3 separate regions of the Homo sapiens genome follow, and all the other regions are linked to region 3. Evidence: promoter capture Hi-C in 16 types of primary human blood cells and fetal thymus (Javierre and others, 2016). All regions are on one chromosome and are shown on one strand. Each heading gives the region's core, a stretch centred on a gene start or on the middle of the fragment in contact. The rest is flanking DNA. Distances are from core to core; before and after follow the strand shown. Region 1 overlaps WDR74 (WD repeat domain 74). Region 2 overlaps SLC3A2 (solute carrier family 3 member 2). Region 3 holds the start of EEF1G (eukaryotic translation elongation factor 1 gamma).

Region 1 (2,700 bases), core at 144-2,643, 260 kb before region 3:
CCTGTAACACACATTTATTGAACACCTACTGAATTCCAGGCACTGGGAGAAGTACAGGGGCTGCCGGTAAAATTTCTGCCTTCAAAAAGTTCTCATCCTCTAAGGTTTTTCACCTGACTCCATTATAATCCTCTAAGTAACCATGGGCAAGTCATTTAATAGTTTTGTGTGTGTGTGTGTTTGTTTTTTGTTTTTTTTTTTTTTGGAGACGGAGTTTTCGCTCTTGTTGCCCAGGCTGGAGTGCAGTGGCGCGATCTCGGCTCACTGCAACCTCCGCCTCCCGGGTTCAAGCGATACTCCTGCCTCAGCCTCCCAAGTACCTGGGATTACAGGCGTCTGCCACCACGCGCGGCTATTTTTGTATCTTTAGTAGAGACGGGGTTTCACCGTATTGGCTAGGCTGGTCTCGAACTCCTGACCTCAGGTGATCCACCTGCCTCGGACTCCCAAAGTGCTGGGATTACAGGCGTGAGCCACTGTGCCTGCTTGTCATTTAATAGTTTTAAGCAAGGCTGGGTGTGGTGGCTCATGCCTGTCATCCCAGCACTTTGGAAGGCCGAGATAGGTGGATCACTTGAGGTCAGGAGTTCAAGACCAGCCTGGCCAGCACGGTAAAACCCCTTCTCTACTAAAAAAATACAAAAATTATCCGGGTGTGGTGGCTCATGCCTGTAATCCCAGCTACTTGGGAGGCCGAGGCTGGAGAATCGCTTGAATCCGTCCCGCAGAGGTTGCAGTGAGCAGAGATCGCACCAGTGCACTCCAGTCTGTGAAACAGAGCAAGACTCCATCTCAAAAAAAACAACAAAAAAAGTTTTAAGCATGCATTCATTAATTCATTATTAATTCATTTATATTTTTTGAGACAGAGCCTCACTGTGTCACCTAGGCTTGAGTGCAGTGGTGCATTCATGGCTCACTACAGCCTCAACCTCCCGGGGTCAAACGATCCTCCCGCCTCAACCTCCTGAGTACCTGGGACCACAGGCAGGTGTCACCCTGCCCAGCTAAATTTTTAAGTTTTTTATAGAGATGGGGTCTCACTGTGTGCCCAGGCCAGTCTCAAACTCCTGGGCTCAACTTGAGCTCAACCACCAACAAGGTGATGTAGCTCTGAAAGCAAAGATTAGGAAGGTGCTAAGTGGTTGGATGACTGGCCTTGCTTTCTTCCAAAGATGATGAAAGAGGGCTGTGAAGCAGGCTGCATAGGTTTGGTGGTGGTAATTCTGACAGGTGAGGTCTGGAAAGCCTGTGGGGGGGACTGGATGTCTGAACTGGTTCTTGAGGGATGGGTAGAATTTTGACTGGTGGAGAAGGGGATAAGGGTATTCTAGAAAGAGGGTACTGCCTGGGAGAGGCCAAGGACTGGAGGCATGCTACAGGGTACATAAATAGGATAAATAGCATTTGATTTGGAAGTTGATAACAAGGAAGCGTTTTTTTTTTTTTGTTTTTTGTTTTTTTTTTATATACGGAGTCTCACTCTGTTGCCCAGGCTGGAGTGCAGTGGCACAGTCTCGGCTCACTGCAACTTCTGCCTCCCAGGCTCAAGCGATTCTCTTGCCTCAGCCTCCTGAGTAGCTGGGATTACAGGCATCCGCCACCACGCCCAGCTAAGTTTTTTTTGTATTTTTATTAGAGACAGGGTTTCACTATGTTGGCCAGGCTAGTCTGGAACTCCTGACCTCAGGCAATCCGCCCACCTCAGCCTCCCAAAATGCTGGGATTACAGGCGTGAACCACTGCACCCGGCCAAGGAAGCATTTTAATACAAGATGAACACTATATTAGGTTGGGATTAAATGTAAAGGGCTTTAAGTGCTAGGTTGAGAGATGTGCACTTTTATTGGTGTTGGTGAGTTATTCATTTATTGTTTTTGTTTTTCTGAGAGACGGAGTCTTGCTCTGTCACTGAGGCTGAAGTGCAGTGGCATGATCTCGGCTCACTGCAACCTCCACCTCCCTGGTTCAGGCGATTCTCCTGCCTCAACTTCCCAAGTAGCTAGGACTACAGGCATGTACCACCACACCCAGCTAATTTTTGTATTTTTTAGTAGAGACAAGATTTCACTATATGTTGGCCAGGCTGGTCTGGAACTCCTGACCTCAGGTGATCTGCCTGCCTTGGCCTCCCAAAGTGCTGGGATTATAGGCGTGAGCCACTGTGCCTGGCCAAGTTATCAGTTTTTGAATAGGAAGTACCATAGTCAGCACTGGGAGCCTGTAGGAGTATGGAGGATGGATTGGAGACAGCAACTGGGAGACTTTTGCCACAGGTCAGGCAAGTCGATACAGAGCCCGAACCCAGCTAGGGAGGGTTGGCAGGTGTGAGAAAGAACATAGGCGCAGGCTGTGCAGATCCTGGGGAGAGACTTGCTTGGACTTCTCGGGAGGGATATTTTAAGCAAGAGACTGACATTTAGTGCCTGAAACTCAGAGCAAGGAACCCAAGAAGTTGGTGTTTGACTTTGACCAAGCCCTAAATTCAGACCAGCCCTAGTAAGCAACTCAAGATTCAGACAGACCAGTACAGCCAGATGCTAGACATAGCTGTGAACAGCAAAAGCACTCTGGAATATCACAGAGTTGATTTCTAGCTGTGGTTGTAACATAGCTGAGTGGCAAATTAGTTTCTCAGCGCTTCTATTTCCTCACTTGGTAAACCCTCACCCTGTTGAGAAAGTTGAATTAACAGATTAG
Region 2 (3,010 bases), core at 1-2,500, 310 kb before region 3:
GCGGATATAGGAGAAGAGTCCAGGCCCAGCGGAGAACGCGTGGAAGTCCCCATGCAGTAGGGAGCGCTCCTTACTCCGCTGGTCACTCAGCCGCCGGAACAAGGAAAGGAGGGAGCCAGGGTCTTCACTCTGGCCCTAAGAATGATAAAAACATAGCAGAAGCGTGTGAGGGGCTCCCCTGGGTACAGACTTCTACAAGCCCAGCCCACCCTCCACCGGTCAGTTTCTACCCATCTAGAACTCTTACCTTCACAGTCATGTTGGCACTTACAGCCCCTGGGATGTCAGGGAAGCTGGACTCATCCCACAGCATGACTGGAGCCTCCATAGGCTGAAAAGCAGAGAAAATAGGACTTTAAAAAGGCCTGGGGTCAGGCATGGTGGCTCACATCTGTAATTCCAGCAGTCTGGGAGGTCAAGGCCAAGAGGATTGCTTGAGCCCAGGCATTTGAAACCAGCCTCAGCAACATAATGAGCCCTCATCTCTACTACAAAATTTTTAAAAATTAGCTGGGTGTAGTGTTACATCCCTATAGTCCCAGATACTGGGGAGGCTGAGGAGGGAGGATCACTTGAACCCAGGAGTTTGAGCTTGCAGTGAGCCATGACTCCACCACTGTACTCCAGCCTGGGCAACAGAGTGAGACCCTGTCTCAAAAAAAAAGCCCTGGGCCCACTGTCCCGTATCCCTCTTCCCATTCACATCCTCATCAATATATAACCTCCCCAACTCATGTCTGGCTAACTTTTTTTTTTTTTTTTTTTTGAGACGGAGTCTCGCTCTGTTCAGGCTGGAGTGCAATGGCACGATCTTGGCTTACTGCAATCTCTGCCTCCTGGGTTCAAGCGATTCTCCTGCCTCAGCCTCCCCAGTAGCTGACCATAGGTGTGCACCACCACACCCAGCTAATTTTTTTGTATTTTTAGTAAAGACGGGGTTTCACCATGTTGGCTAGGCTGGTCTCGAACTCTTGACCTCAGGTGATCCACCCACCTTGGCCTCCCAAAGTGCTGGGATTACAGGCATAAGCCACGACACCCGGCCTGGCTAACTTCTACTGGATGAGTGAGGCAGGCTCCCACCTCAGGGTCCTCACACATACACTGTTGCCCCTCAGCCAAGAGCTCCCAGATGGCTGCCAGCCAGCTCTCTCACTTCCCTCAGGTATCTGCTTGGTTATCTTACCAGGTCTCCTATGGCTACTCTCTATAAAACAAGCCCCATCATCCCCTAGTCTCTAGGCTCCTTACCCCGCCTTCTTTTGCATAGCACTGATCAGCAGCTGGCGTTTTATTTATGCATATCTAATTATCTAACCACCTCCAGCTCTCTTGTGCAATGCTGTATCCTCAGTGTAACAGACAGAAATTATTCTATAAACATCTGTGGAATAAATGAATAACTGGTTCTATAAACATCATGCTGATGGCCGGGTGCAGTGGCTCGCACCTGTAATCATAGCAGTTTGGGAGGCCAAGGTGGGAGGATCATTTGCACCCAGGAGTTTGAGAACAGCCTGGGCAACATAGTGAGACCACACCTCTACAAATTTTAAAAATTAGCTGTGGCCAGGCACAGTGGCTCACACCTGTAGTCCCAGCAATTTGGGAGATCAGGGCAGGCAGAGCGATTGAGCCCAGGAGTTGGAGACCAGCCTGGGCAACAACAGTGAAAGCCTGTCTCTACAAAAATTAGCCGGGCATGGTGGTGTGTGCCTGTATTCCCAGACCACCTGTATTCCCAGCTACTTGGGAAGCTGAGGCAGGAGTATCACTTGAACCCAAGAGGCAGAGGTTGCAGTGAGACATAATCGCACCACTGCAATCCAGCCAGATCAACAGAGCAAGAACCTGTCTCCAAAAAAAAAAAAGATCAGCTGGGCATGATGGCACGCACCTATCTATGGTACATATCCCAGCTACTCAGGAGGCTGAGGTGGGATGATCACTTCGGCCTGGGAGGCGGAGGCTGCAATGAACCAAGATCATGCCACTGCACTCCAGCCTGGGCGACATAGGGAAATGCTGTCTTAAAAACAAAAACAAAAAACAAACAAACAAACAAAAAAAAAAAGTCGGGGATCAACAGTAACCCTGTATCTAAAGCTAGTGAATGCCTTTGTAGTAGTATCCCTACCATGTATTTCTTTCTTTCTTTTCTTTTCTTTTTTTTTTTGGAGAAGGAGTCTCCCTCTGCCGCCCAGGCTAAAGTGCAGTGGCACAATCTCAGTTCACTGCAACCTCTGCCTCCAGGTTCAAGCGATTCTCTTGCCTCAGCCTCCCCAGTAGCTGGGACTACAGGCGTGCACCACCACACCTGGCTAATTTTTGTATTTTTAGTAGAGACTGGGTTTCACCCTGTTGGCTAGGCTGGTTTCGAACTCCTTACCTCCAGTGATCCACCCACCTTGGACTCCCAAAGTGCTAGGATTACAGGCATGAGCCACCGTGCCCAGCCACTGCCATGTACTTCTCCACTTATTTATCTGGCTCCCTCACTAAACTATGAGCTCCTGAGGGCACAGAGCCTAGCACAGTACCCACTGTCCAAAGAATAAAGGAATGAATAAATGAATGGTGGCTACCATAGCAAACATCTGCCAGGTACCAGGCATTACCATTAAAAACATGCCCTCATTTAATACTAACCACCCTTCAAGAAATGCAGTAACACAAGGGATGACCAAAATTCAGAAAGGTAAAATAATTTGCCCAAAGCCACATAGCCACTCAGCTACTGACTAAGAATCAAACGCGTTTTCACCCCAAGGCTCACGTCTATGTGCCGCCATCCCCAGAATCATCATTGTAAGATGGATAAACAACCTCCCTGTGACAGAAAGACAGCAAGCAGTACCTGTCCAGGAAGGGCAGCTGCATCCAGGCCAATCTCATCCCCGTAGCTGAAAACAGGGGTCCCTGGCAGGGTGAAGAGCATCAGCTGGTAGAGTCGGAGAAGTTGAGCCGGCAAGAAGGAAGTCAGGAGCCTTGCCTGAGACAACTACAGGGA
Region 3 (2,700 bases), core at 103-2,602:
CTGAGCCCCTGCTGAGCTTTGTGGCGTCTGTCTCCCCGGCTGACCGAATGCTCACTGTGACCCCGCTCCAGGATCCCCAAGGCCTGTTCCCTGATCTCCATCATTTCTTACAGGTTTTCCTCCCTCAAGCAATTCGACATCTCAAGTGAAGACATGGCCCCTGAAGGGCAATAAAGCTGCTAGTTTATTAATACAGTCTCCCGTTTCCTTTCATTTCCATCTGGTCATAATCCCCCTTCCCCTCCCCCAGAACTTCCTGCAGCTGCTCCCGTCTGACCCCGAACATGGGTCTCTCCCTGTTGCTCTCCACCCCACCAGCTTCTCCTTCCTACAGTTCGCACAGCTCGAGGGGAGTGCGGGGGCAGCACCGCGCGTGGCACCTGGCACCCGCGCAGAGTTCCTGAATGGCAGAGCGGTGGGTGGCTCCAGCAGTACTGAGAAGAGCCAGGTTTGCCTCCACATTCTTCCTGTCGCCTCAGATTTATGCGCACAAGGACGGAGATTTGCGTTCAGCGTTCTTCATTCTCTCCTTTAAACGAGGAGAGTTCATCCCGTTCTTAAACTGGGTAAGAGATTTCAAACCTGAACATGGGTCAAAAGCCATGAACATCAGAAGCGACGATGTCAGGTCTTCCAGCGTCAGCCCCTCCAGGGGCCGAGTCCGGAGGAGGTGGGAGGGACAGGGCGCGTTCTCCCTCATGTCCCTGCCCTGCTTCGGGCCGGAGGGCCGGTGCCCTGCTCGCAGTAACAGCACCCTGGAGCTGTCAGGGGTTGGATGTGAGCAAACCTCACTTTGGCAGGCGGGTTCAGACCGGGGCCCCTGTTAGACGCTCATCCCTTTCTGGAGGAAAAGCAGAGCAGGAACTAAAGGGATTTAGCACACACACTGCCACCTCCGCGCAGCAGCTGTTCCTCGCTCCCATGAGTTTCATAGAATCATGTGAGGGGCTTGGCAAAATCTACCATCAAGTCACTTGTCCCTGGGAGGGCCAGAGAGGGACGCCCCCAGTAGCACTGGCCGCGCCGGGCCAACAACCGCGCCACGTAGCCAAGAACTCGCGGCTTTTCCAGCGGGTTCTCACAACTTCCCCGCCCTCCACGCTGTCTACCTCCACGTCTAGACTCCGATTGGCCCGCTGCACCTGGGGGGCGGGCCAGTCAAGAGCTCCAATGCGCAGGCCCGAGCTTTTTCCGCGCTGGCCAGCAGGCCCCACCCACCCAGTTCTTTTTCCAATTCAGCGCCACTGGATACCGAACTGTCGTACGTATGTCTTCTGTTTCGTCCTCGCTTTCCGGCTGCTGTTTCTCCACGGCTCTCCTCTTTCCCCCTCCCTTCTCTCCCGGGCGGCTTACTTTGCGGCAGCGCCGAGAACCCCACCCCCTTTCTTTGCGGAATCACCATGGCGGCTGGGGTAAGTTTGCTGGCTCTGGTGGTTCGGGTCATCCTATCCACCGCCATCCTTTGCCCGAGTGGGGCCAGTCGGCGCCAGAGGAGTTCTGAGGTTGAGTGGGGAACTGATTCGGGGGTCTACAGACTGTACTGCTGGAGAGTAGGGTTCCTAGGGCCTGGAGGGGAACTGAGGCTGGGGCTCTCGGAGGCCAGAGGTGGAAGGGTCTGGGGAAGAGGAGAAAAGAGATGCCGGGTCTGGGCCGTCCGAAGCCTGAGAAAGGGGTTCGGCTCTGTTGCCGCTTTGAGGCGTGGTATCTGGGCAGGTTGACGAACTTCTGTGTCCGTTTTGTGGAGTAACACAGGGGACAGGTTGAAGAGGAGGGTCTTTGTAGGCAGGTCCGGCTGGCACGGTTAAAGGTCGTCTCTCAGGGAGGTTTGGGAGCGAGAGGATTCTCCGGACAGTGAAGTCAGACCAATTGGACTCCGCTGGCCGGCATAATAGAGAAGCCCAACGCCGGGGAACTCGCTGCGGGACAGGACCGGAGGGATGATATTCGCGACACGGAAAGAAAGGCTTTTTGAGAGAGAGGAGTTGATTTAAGAAGACGGCATGCCATCCCCTATCTCTGGCTAGTCTGAGGGGAACTAGAAATCTCTCGATCGTCGTGCGTGCCTTAGAGACAGGACGATGCTTTTGAAGCGGTGAGCAGCTGAGCAGTAGAGTAGGCAGGCGCTCGGAACCATCAATGAATGAAGCGAGGGCTCCGGGAAGGGAGGAGAGTATGTTTGTAGGCAGATGGAGTCTGATGGAGCTAGAAGTTCTGGATTTCTTGGAGATAGATTTGAGAGGAAGAGAATACTTCCAGAGGTGTCCTTAGGGAAGGTCAAATCTGTCAACAAGCTTTATTTAGCAGTTGGTGTGTAGTTCTGTTCTTGGTATTTCGGAGGATTCTGATTACATATGACAAGTACTAAAGGACTTGGTTCACCAGAGGAAGTAAAAGGGTGAGTTGAATACATTGGGATTATTCAGGAAAGTCATCCTGGAGAGTGGCATTAAGGACTGGGACCCTTCTACTCATTAATTTTGTCCCTCTCTTTCTCCCATAGACCCTGTACACGTATCCTGAAAACTGGAGGGCCTTCAAGGCTCTCATCGCTGCTCAGTACAGCGGGGCTCAGGTCCGCGTGCTCTCCGCACCACCCCACTTCCATTTTGGCCAAACCAACCGCACCCCTGAATTTCTCCGCAAATTTCCTGCCGGCAAGGTGAGTTGGGAGATGGGGAGCATCCTTCGGTTCTGAGAAAC

Evidence for each region. The method cuts DNA at HindIII sites, captures the fragments that hold promoters and counts their contacts. A CHiCAGO score of 5 or more calls a contact.
Region 1: a fragment that was not itself captured here is called in contact with the fragment with the promoter of EEF1G in region 3 in 11 of 17 cell types (naive B cells, activated CD4 T cells, monocytes and 8 more); the score reaches 8.3 in naive B cells.
Region 2: a contact is called between a fragment that was not itself captured here and the fragment with the promoter of EEF1G in region 3, in 8 of 17 cell types (naive CD4 T cells, neutrophils, activated CD4 T cells and 5 more). The highest score is 8.4, in naive CD4 T cells.

What each region holds. Positions count from the first base shown.
Region 1 is chr11:62,836,265-62,838,964 of GRCh38, reverse strand. The region is part of intron 3 of WDR74 (WD repeat domain 74); the gene reads left to right. Among named protein-coding and RNA genes, the nearest start is that of WDR74, 2.0 kb to the left of the region's middle. The HindIII fragment of the contact is 4,232 bases long and covers 1-2,700 here.
Region 2 is chr11:62,885,456-62,888,465 of GRCh38, reverse strand. SLC3A2 (solute carrier family 3 member 2) reads right to left here. Exons shown (of 9, transcript NM_001013251.3): 7 at 2,858-3,001; 8 at 248-331; 9 at 1-135. Among named protein-coding and RNA genes, the nearest start is that of SLC3A2, 6.1 kb to the right of the region's middle. The HindIII fragment of the contact is 5,324 bases long and covers 1-3,010 here.
Region 3 is chr11:62,572,543-62,575,242 of GRCh38, reverse strand. EEF1G (eukaryotic translation elongation factor 1 gamma) reads left to right here and starts at 1,352. Exons shown (of 10, transcript NM_001404.5): 1 at 1,352-1,412; 2 at 2,501-2,659. The coding sequence starts at 1,401. It overlaps TUT1 (terminal uridylyl transferase 1, U6 snRNA-specific), which reads left to right. Exons shown (of 9, transcript NM_022830.3): 9 at 1-191. The coding sequence ends at 149. RefSeq lists enhancers at 1-266, 424-483, 267-1,228, 1,184-1,383. The HindIII fragment of the contact is 8,528 bases long and covers 1-2,293 here.